Regions from separate parts of the Homo sapiens genome. Here region 1 is linked to region 2. Evidence: promoter capture Hi-C in human tissues and cell types (Jung and others, 2019). All regions are on one chromosome and are shown on one strand. Each heading gives the region's core, a stretch centred on a gene start or on the middle of the fragment in contact. The rest is flanking DNA. Distances are from core to core; before and after follow the strand shown.

The links. The method cuts DNA at HindIII sites, captures the fragments that hold promoters and counts their contacts. A contact is called where the count stands out against the background at its distance.
Region 1: a fragment that was not itself captured here is called in contact with the fragment with the promoter of L3HYPDH in region 2 in 1 of the 25 tissues and cell types used here (dorsolateral prefrontal cortex).

What each region holds. Positions count from the first base shown.
Region 1 is chr14:58,186,841-58,190,929 of GRCh38, reverse strand. No RefSeq gene overlaps it. Among named protein-coding and RNA genes, the nearest start is that of ACTR10, 11 kb to the left of the region's middle. The HindIII fragment of the contact is 4,169 bases long and covers 634-4,089 here.
Region 2 is chr14:59,482,279-59,485,998 of GRCh38, reverse strand. L3HYPDH (trans-L-3-hydroxyproline dehydratase) reads left to right here and starts at 1,591. Exons shown (of 5, transcript NM_144581.2): 1 at 1,591-2,190. The coding sequence starts at 1,683. JKAMP (JNK1/MAPK8 associated membrane protein) reads right to left here and starts at 1,482. Exons shown (of 7, transcript NM_016475.5): 1 at 1,406-1,482. The coding sequence starts at 1,409. RefSeq lists an enhancer at 1,237-1,516. The HindIII fragment of the contact is 11,286 bases long and covers 1-3,720 here.

The DNA of each region.
Region 1 (4,089 bases), core at 1,469-3,968, 1.3 Mb after region 2:
CCCATGCATAGTAACATTATGGTCTTGTTGAGGCATCAGTAGGACATACTGTTAAAGAAAAAAATCTATTGATAGGGAACTTTTAATAAATTACACTTTTTTTGAGAGGGAGTCTGGCTTTGTTGCCCAGGTTGGAGTGCAGTGGCGCAATCTCAGCTCACTGCAACCTCTGCCTCCTGGGTTCAAGTGATTCTCCTGCCTCAGCCTCCTGAGTAGCTGGGATTACAAGCGTGTGCCACCACGCCCAGCTAATTTTTTTTTTTTTTTTGAGACAGAGTCTCGCTCTGTCGCCCAGGCTGGAGTGCAGTAGCGCTATCTCTGCTCACTGCAAGCTCCGCCACCTGGGTTCACGCCATTCTCCTGCCTCAGCCTCCCGAGTAGCTGGGACTACAGGCGCCCACCACCACGCCTGGCTAATTTTTTTGTATTTTTAGTAGAGACGGGGTTTCACCATGTTAGCCAGGATGGTCTCGATCTCCCAAAGTGCTGGGATAACAGGCGTGAGCCACCGTGCCCGGCCAATTTTTATAGTTTTAGTAGAGATGGGGTTTCACCATGTTGGACAGGCTGGTCTGTAACTCCTGACCTCAAGTGATCCACCCGCCTTGGCCTCCCAAAGTTCTGGGATTACAGGCATGAGCCACCGTGCTTGGCCAAATTATACATATTTATTATAGAAAATTCCTATTTTGTTAACAAAAGCAATGATTTCTCTCTTTCTTTCTTTCTTTCTTTCTTTCTTTCTTTCTTTCTTTCTTTCTTTCTTTCTTTCTTTCTTTCCCTTCTTTCTTTCCTTTCTTTCTCTCTCCTTCCTTCCTTCCTTCCTTCCCTCCTTCCTTCCTTCCCTCCCTCCCTCCCCCTCTCCCTCTCTCCCCCTGTCCCTCTCTCCCTCTCTCTCTCTTTCTGTGACAGAGTCTCGCTCTGTTGCCCAGGCTGGAGTGCAGTCTCGGCTCACTGCAACCTCCGCGTCCCAGGTTCAAGTGCTTCTCTTGCCTCAGTGACCCGAGTAGCTGGGATTACAGATGTGTGCCACCGCTCCCAGCTAATTTTTGTATTTTTAGTAGAGACGCGGTTTCGTCATGTTGGCCAGGCTGGTCTCAAACTCCTGGCCTCCAGTGGTCCGCCCGCCTCAGACTCCCAAAGTGCTAGGATTACTGGCATGAGCCACCATGCCCATCCAGCAATGATTTCTTGTCTAGTGTGTGCTGGCAGAGTGCTAAGTCTGGTATCTCAGTTAATCCTTGCAAATCTTTATTTATCAACATATGAAAAAAATCTCCTGCTCATAGAGGTTAAGTAACTTGTATGAGGTCATACTGCTAGTGTGTGACAAAATTTGGACTTGCTCTTCCTATTACCCCACATTGCCTTCTGAAAAAAAAAAATGACAGCTAAATTATACATGTGTTCATCAGGCACTCCTAAAGGGAAAAAAAAATCTGGAGCCAAACCATTTAAATAAATGTGACAAGATATATCTAAAATTAAACAGTGCATTGAAGGGTGTGATTTGTTCTGCTACAGAAAAAGTATTCCCAGACAGTCTAGATTATGTCTCTGATCAATATGCTCAGTGAGAGAAGGATATTCCATTTTCTGAAAACGATCCCACACATTTCAGCTGCAAATAGTTAATTAGTCATTTCATAGCCAGAAAGAAGGGAGTAATCCTTTAATGTCCATATGGCATACGTTTTCCAAGCTTATTTTTATATTCCCTTCAGTCCTTTCAATCCCAGCCTGAAAAGATTACTTAGATGATTTAGATGTAAAGAAATGTTATCATGTACACTCTATCAGGACATGCATTGAGCCCTTCTTTTCAAAGGCCTTATCAGACAGAGGTCATTTTACCAATAGGGTTTATTTCTCCAAGAAAGAAATTCAAGTAACAGAAACACTGATTGCAAATTTTGTACTAAGCAAATACTGTTAAAATATTTTAGATGTGATAATGGTATTATGGTTATATTATTAGGAAAGAACTCTCTTTTAGAATTGCATGATGAAATATTTATGGGAAAATGATATCATGCCTGAGATTTACTTCAAAATAATGTGGAGAGAGAGGTTAGTGAGTTTGCAGATGGGGCAGATGGGCCATAGGTTGATGGCTGTTGGCCTGGGTGATGGCTATTTGGGGGTTTATTACACTAGTATCTATATGTTTATGTATTTAAAAATAAGTTAAAAAATGCACTCACCTCTGGAAATATATAATCAAAAAAGAATACAACAAAAGAAAAAGTTAAAGCTTTTTTTAAAAAAGTAAAAAGAATAATAAAAATAAAAAAATTAAAAATTAAGGTTAAAAAACAAAATATGTGACTAACAAGTCTGACTCACATGTTGGGATATATATTCACTTTATAATAATCCTTACCTTCAAGTACACTATGTAGGGTAGAACAGCAGTACTCAAAGTATGTTCTGAGAGGATTGTTTGTTGTCCATAGGCATCAGTGTGTATCAGCCAATATTTATATCAGGATAACATTTTCATTACTATTTTGGTATAAGAAATTTTGATGTGATTTTTCTCATTGGGGTTGTCCAAGAAGAGCATACCTAAAAGAACCCAATTTTCCCCATTATTTTCCGGGAGGTTTTGTTGTGGTCATCATTGTCATTGCTGTTGTTCCTATTTTGTGGTACTGTTTTCCGTAGTGGCAACAACTGGGAGTGTGTGAGGTATATATCCCATGGCATGTAGGGTTCTGCCACAGTCGTCTGTCGTTTGGAAATATTTCAGAGGCACTGCTCTAATGATTGAGTCTTACCATGATGTCTATATTCTCACTTGTCGTTAAAGATTGGTAAAGCCTAGTCACACATCCTTACGGAAAATAATTTGCCGTATTGTCTAACGCTGTCAGCAGGCATCACGAGAGGGAAAGAGAAAACTGTCAGTCTATGCCCTGTAATTCAGGGACAAGGGTGGAGGCAAAAGCAGAGCAGCATATGTTCCTCAACTGAAAAGTGGATAAAGACAATGTGGTACAGCCATACAATGGAATATTATTCAGCAATTCAGCAACAAAAAGGAACAAACTGCTGAAATACCCTACGACATTGGATGAATGTCAAAATCATTATGTTGAATGAAAGACACCAGATACAGAAGATAATATATGATTCAATTTATAGGAGCTGTCCACAAAAGGCAAATCTATACAGATAAAAAGTAGAGTTTCTTAGGGCCAGGAATGAGAATGGGCATTAATTCTAAGTGGACATTAGGGATCTTAGTGGGGTTATAGGCATGTTCTAAAACTGGATTATGGTGATGGTTGTATAACTCGGTAAATTTACTAAAAATCATTGAATTGTATGTTTAAAACCGGTGAATTTTATGATATTTAAAGTATATGTCAACAAAGTTGTTTTTTATAAAAATCAAATCAGCTCTAAAATCTTATTTTTCACTTTTGATATTTTTGAGTGTATGAGATGTGGCAGTGATCAAAGCTAGTGGAGTGGTGTAGTCCAGAAAGAAGATTTGCTTGTCACATCTTACAATGTTCCAAATGCCTGACTTGGAACTCCAGTACCAAGAAGCTTTGTATAAAAAATCGTTGGCGTGGGCTGGGCGTGATGGCTCATGCCTGTAATCCCAGCACTTTGGGAGGCCGAGGCGGGCGGATGGCCTGAGGTCAGGAGTTAAAGACCAGCCTGGCCAACATGGTGAAACCCCATCTCTACTAAAAATTCAAAAATTAGCCGGGCATGGTGGTAGGCGCCTGTAATCCCAGCTACTTGGGAGGCTGAGGCAGGAAAATCGCTTGAACCTGGAAGATGGAGGTTGCAGTGACCCGAGATTGCGCAATTGCACTCCAGCCTAGGTGACAAGAGCGAGATTTCGTCTCAAAAAAAAAAAAAATTGTTGATGTGGGGTGCATGTCTTTTAGAAATGTTTGAAAGTCCTTCTCATTATCCTAGGGGAAGAGGCTTCTCTTCTTCAATTCAGAGCCAATCCCTGCACTTGAGCTCTGGGCCTCATCCCTCACACCTTCTCAGTGGCCATGCTTCCTCAGTTATACCTGCCTCCTTCTGTTTCTCACCAGCATCTTTTAAAAAAAGAAAATCCTC
Region 2 (3,720 bases), core at 342-2,841:
TTATTCACAAGAAATTATGGAAGTTTTCTTCATCAGTGACATCTGATTCCCTTCATTCATTCATTGATTAAAACAAACAAACAGGCTCGGTGAGGTGGCTCACGCCTGTAATCCCAGCACTTTGGGAGGTCGAGGTGGGCAGATCATGAGGTCAGGAGTTCCAGACCAGCCTGGCCAAAATGGTGAAACCCCGTCTCTACTAAAAATACAAAAATTAGCCTGACGTGGTGGCGCGCGCCTGTAGTCCCAGCTACTGGGGAGGCTGAGGCAGGAGAATCGCTTGAACCCAGGAGGCAGAGGTTGCAGTGAGCCGAGATCGCGCCACTGCACTCCAGCCTGGGCTACAGAAGGAGACTCCGTCTCAAAACAAACTGCGGTCTACATGTGAATTAATTTGAAAAATTATGCATCTTTTGACTATTCTTGAACAATCATTTCCCAAATTATTCACGAATTCACAATCTAGACTGCCTGGTCTACAGTGCCTTCTCTCCTTTCACATTCAAGCAGACTTTTTACTTCCTTCTCCTTATGCTGCTGAGAGAAAAAGAGAAACAGCATTGAATAATATTCCTCCAGTTTAATATTTTCGCTTTTAACAAATTTCGGACTTAGCTTTTTAAACCCACTGGCCTCTTTAATGGGCGCTTATTTTTTTTGTAACCAATTGTAATCACAATGTTCTAAATTAATACATGAAAATGAATATTTCAGGTTTTTCAAGAATGCAGAAGGTAAGGAATTGGAAACTTCTGTATGGGCTTTACATCTAGTAGATGCTTAATAAATACACGTGAATATCAATAATCTAAAGTTTCTCAAAATCCAAGGCCTGAAAACCAGTATGATAAACTGAACTGAAATAAACAGCCTATCACTTACTAAGCAAAACCCAGGCTCCAAGCGACTGTTGAATTTCTCCTTTCATTTCCTTTAGCGAACGATGGCTAAAGTTTTAAGATTCCATTTTTTTGCAGCGGTCCTGCCCTTTGTGACGGGCGCTATAAATCTACGTTTGAGGTTGAAGCAGTAGACAAATTATGCAGCAACTTGCTTCTGCTTTACTGTTTTTTCTGCACTATCACCCGCGTTTTCAATTCCGAAGTCAACCCTCAAGCAAGTGTTCCCTCGACATTAAACTAAGGGACTGAAGAGACATTTCGGACCAAACAACAAAGACCTGGCATTTCGCCGCAGACAGCGCGCCTCCCCTAGTAGCCCGTTGCGGACAGACCACCCCAACCCCGCAGGAGTGCGGAGCCCGGCCCGAGGGCGGGCGGGGTCAAGGGGCGAGCCTGCGCCGCCAACCGAAGGCCGCCTACAAAGAGCCGAGCCCGAGGCCAGCCGTGTAGGAAAGTAGTCGGGACTACCAGAAACGCTTCCCGGGATCTTGGCGACCACTCACCCATGGGCCGCCTGAAGGTTTTTTTCGAGAAGCACTAGATCAGCGGATCTGGCAGCTGCACCGAACATCCGGGCCACAGCGAGCTCGGCGGCTCCGCCTCCCGGTAACCCGGGCGACAGCTCCGAAGTTCCTCCCTCGCTTCCGGGTTTAGGCTCCGAGACCCCGCCCCCCGGACGTGGCTGGTTAGCGTCCCGCCCTCCTCCCGCGGAGTCAGTGGGTGAGGGTCGGGCTTGAAGCCATAGCTGCGGGACCGTACTCGTCTCCCCCGACGCAGACCATGGAGAGCGCGCTGGCGGTGCCCCGGCTGCCCCCGCATGATCCAGGGACGCCGGTGCTGTCGGTGGTGGACATGCACACGGGCGGCGAGCCCTTGCGTATCGTGCTGGCGGGGTGTCCGGAGGTGTCTGGGCCCACCCTGCTGGCCAAGCGGCGCTACATGCGCCAGCACCTTGACCACGTGCGGCGACGGCTCATGTTCGAGCCCCGAGGGCACCGGGACATGTACGGGGCGGTCCTAGTCCCGAGCGAGCTGCCGGACGCGCATCTGGGCGTCCTGTTCCTGCACAACGAGGGCTACAGCTCCATGTGCGGCCACGCAGTGCTGGCGCTGGGCCGCTTCGCTTTGGACTTCGGGCTTGTGCCGGCGCCCCCTGCGGGCACCCGCGAGGCCCGCGTCAATATCCACTGCCCCTGCGGGCTGGTGACCGCCTTCGTGGCATGCGAGGACGGCCGCAGCCACGGACCGGTGCGCTTCCACAGCGTCCCGGCCTTCGTGCTGGCCACAGGTAATGGGCGGGACCTTTCCAGCCCAGGGCAGAGCTGCAACCGGGACGCGACTAACTACATTAACGGTTTTTCTGGGCTGGAACTCTGGCAACTAACCTACTCCGCGAAACCTTGCAATTAATAGAAAGGTAAATCACTGCCAACGTGTGTCAGCAGCCTTGCGTATTTGGTGCGTGTAATTTCGATTTTCCCTGACTCCCATCCGCCTGTGGTTTTGGGAGACCCTTGAGGAGCGAGGAATTGCGTGTTACCCTGACTCAGCGCCTCCCTCTGCACTGGTGAGGCATTCCTAGAGATTTCACCGGTGGATAAAGCAAGGTACGGTGGGGTCAAGGAAAGAGCGAAGAACAGCCAATGTACCAGGGTTCCAGGCTGGCTGAGAATATGCTTGGTAGACACAGAATCACACTTAATAAGTTACTAAACCTGGTCTCCTTTCCTCACCTCCCCCACTTCTTTGAAGAATTAAATGAGAATGAATGAACAAAGCAGTTTATAAATCATTAAGATACGAATGTTGCTTTTCTTTAAGAACAGGAACACACATTGCCTGGTTTCAAATCCTGATAACCCCCTAAAGCTGTGCAACCTTAGGCAAATTACTTAATCTCTCTGTGCCTGTGTTTCTTCTTTTCCCTCATAGAGTTTTTTTGTTAGGATTAAATGAGAGTATGCAAGATACTGTATTCCTGGAGATAGATTGCAAGGTTTATATGATCGCTAAAGTTCCCTAGGCCTATTGAGCCATTAAAAGGTTTTGCTGGATTCTCTAGTACAGATCCTTGTACAGCTTATCATGTAAAGCAGGGCATCTCTATAACCATAACCCTTACAGGAGGGATGACCTGGCAAGCTGGCATCTGGTTTCTCATCAGACTACTACCTCCCAGGAGCTGAATTCTATCAGTAAGAATGCTTTAGTCATTGTGACTGGAAGTGAGCCAGGAGCCAGTTTACCAGGAATAGAGTTATCCTTTTCTTAAAAATCTTCAAGCCATGCAAATCATCTGTTAGAAAGTTGGACCTTGATTCCCCCTGAAGAACTAGGTTTCAGATTAGCCTGATTATGAATGATAACTGATAGAACAGGCACTTTTAGAGCAACCTTAGGCAGCTGAAATCCACGAGTTAACGAAGAATGCCTCTGGAGAAATTGATGCCATTTTCCCAGAGAATGGTGTCACTTCCAGACTGGGAGGCCACTTGAGGGAGACAGAATTTATGTTTACGATTCCATTTTTAAAACCTCAACAGTTTAACTAGCGTGGCTACCAGAATTCCCCCTAGGCAACTCCAGCAGCAGAGTAGAAACACTCTAGACTTCTGTAGGAAATGGCAGCTGGCAGCAGGAACACAAACTACATCTCATTTCTGGGTCAGTTAGGGCAGGGTCAGTCAACCACTTGACCTCAGTAGTTCCTCTCAGTAGTTCCTGAGAGCATCACTGTATGACAGTACAATGATTAGTGGGCATTAATGGTCACTGAGTTAAGAAAATGAAATGCTATATTCTCTACTTTGAAAAATGC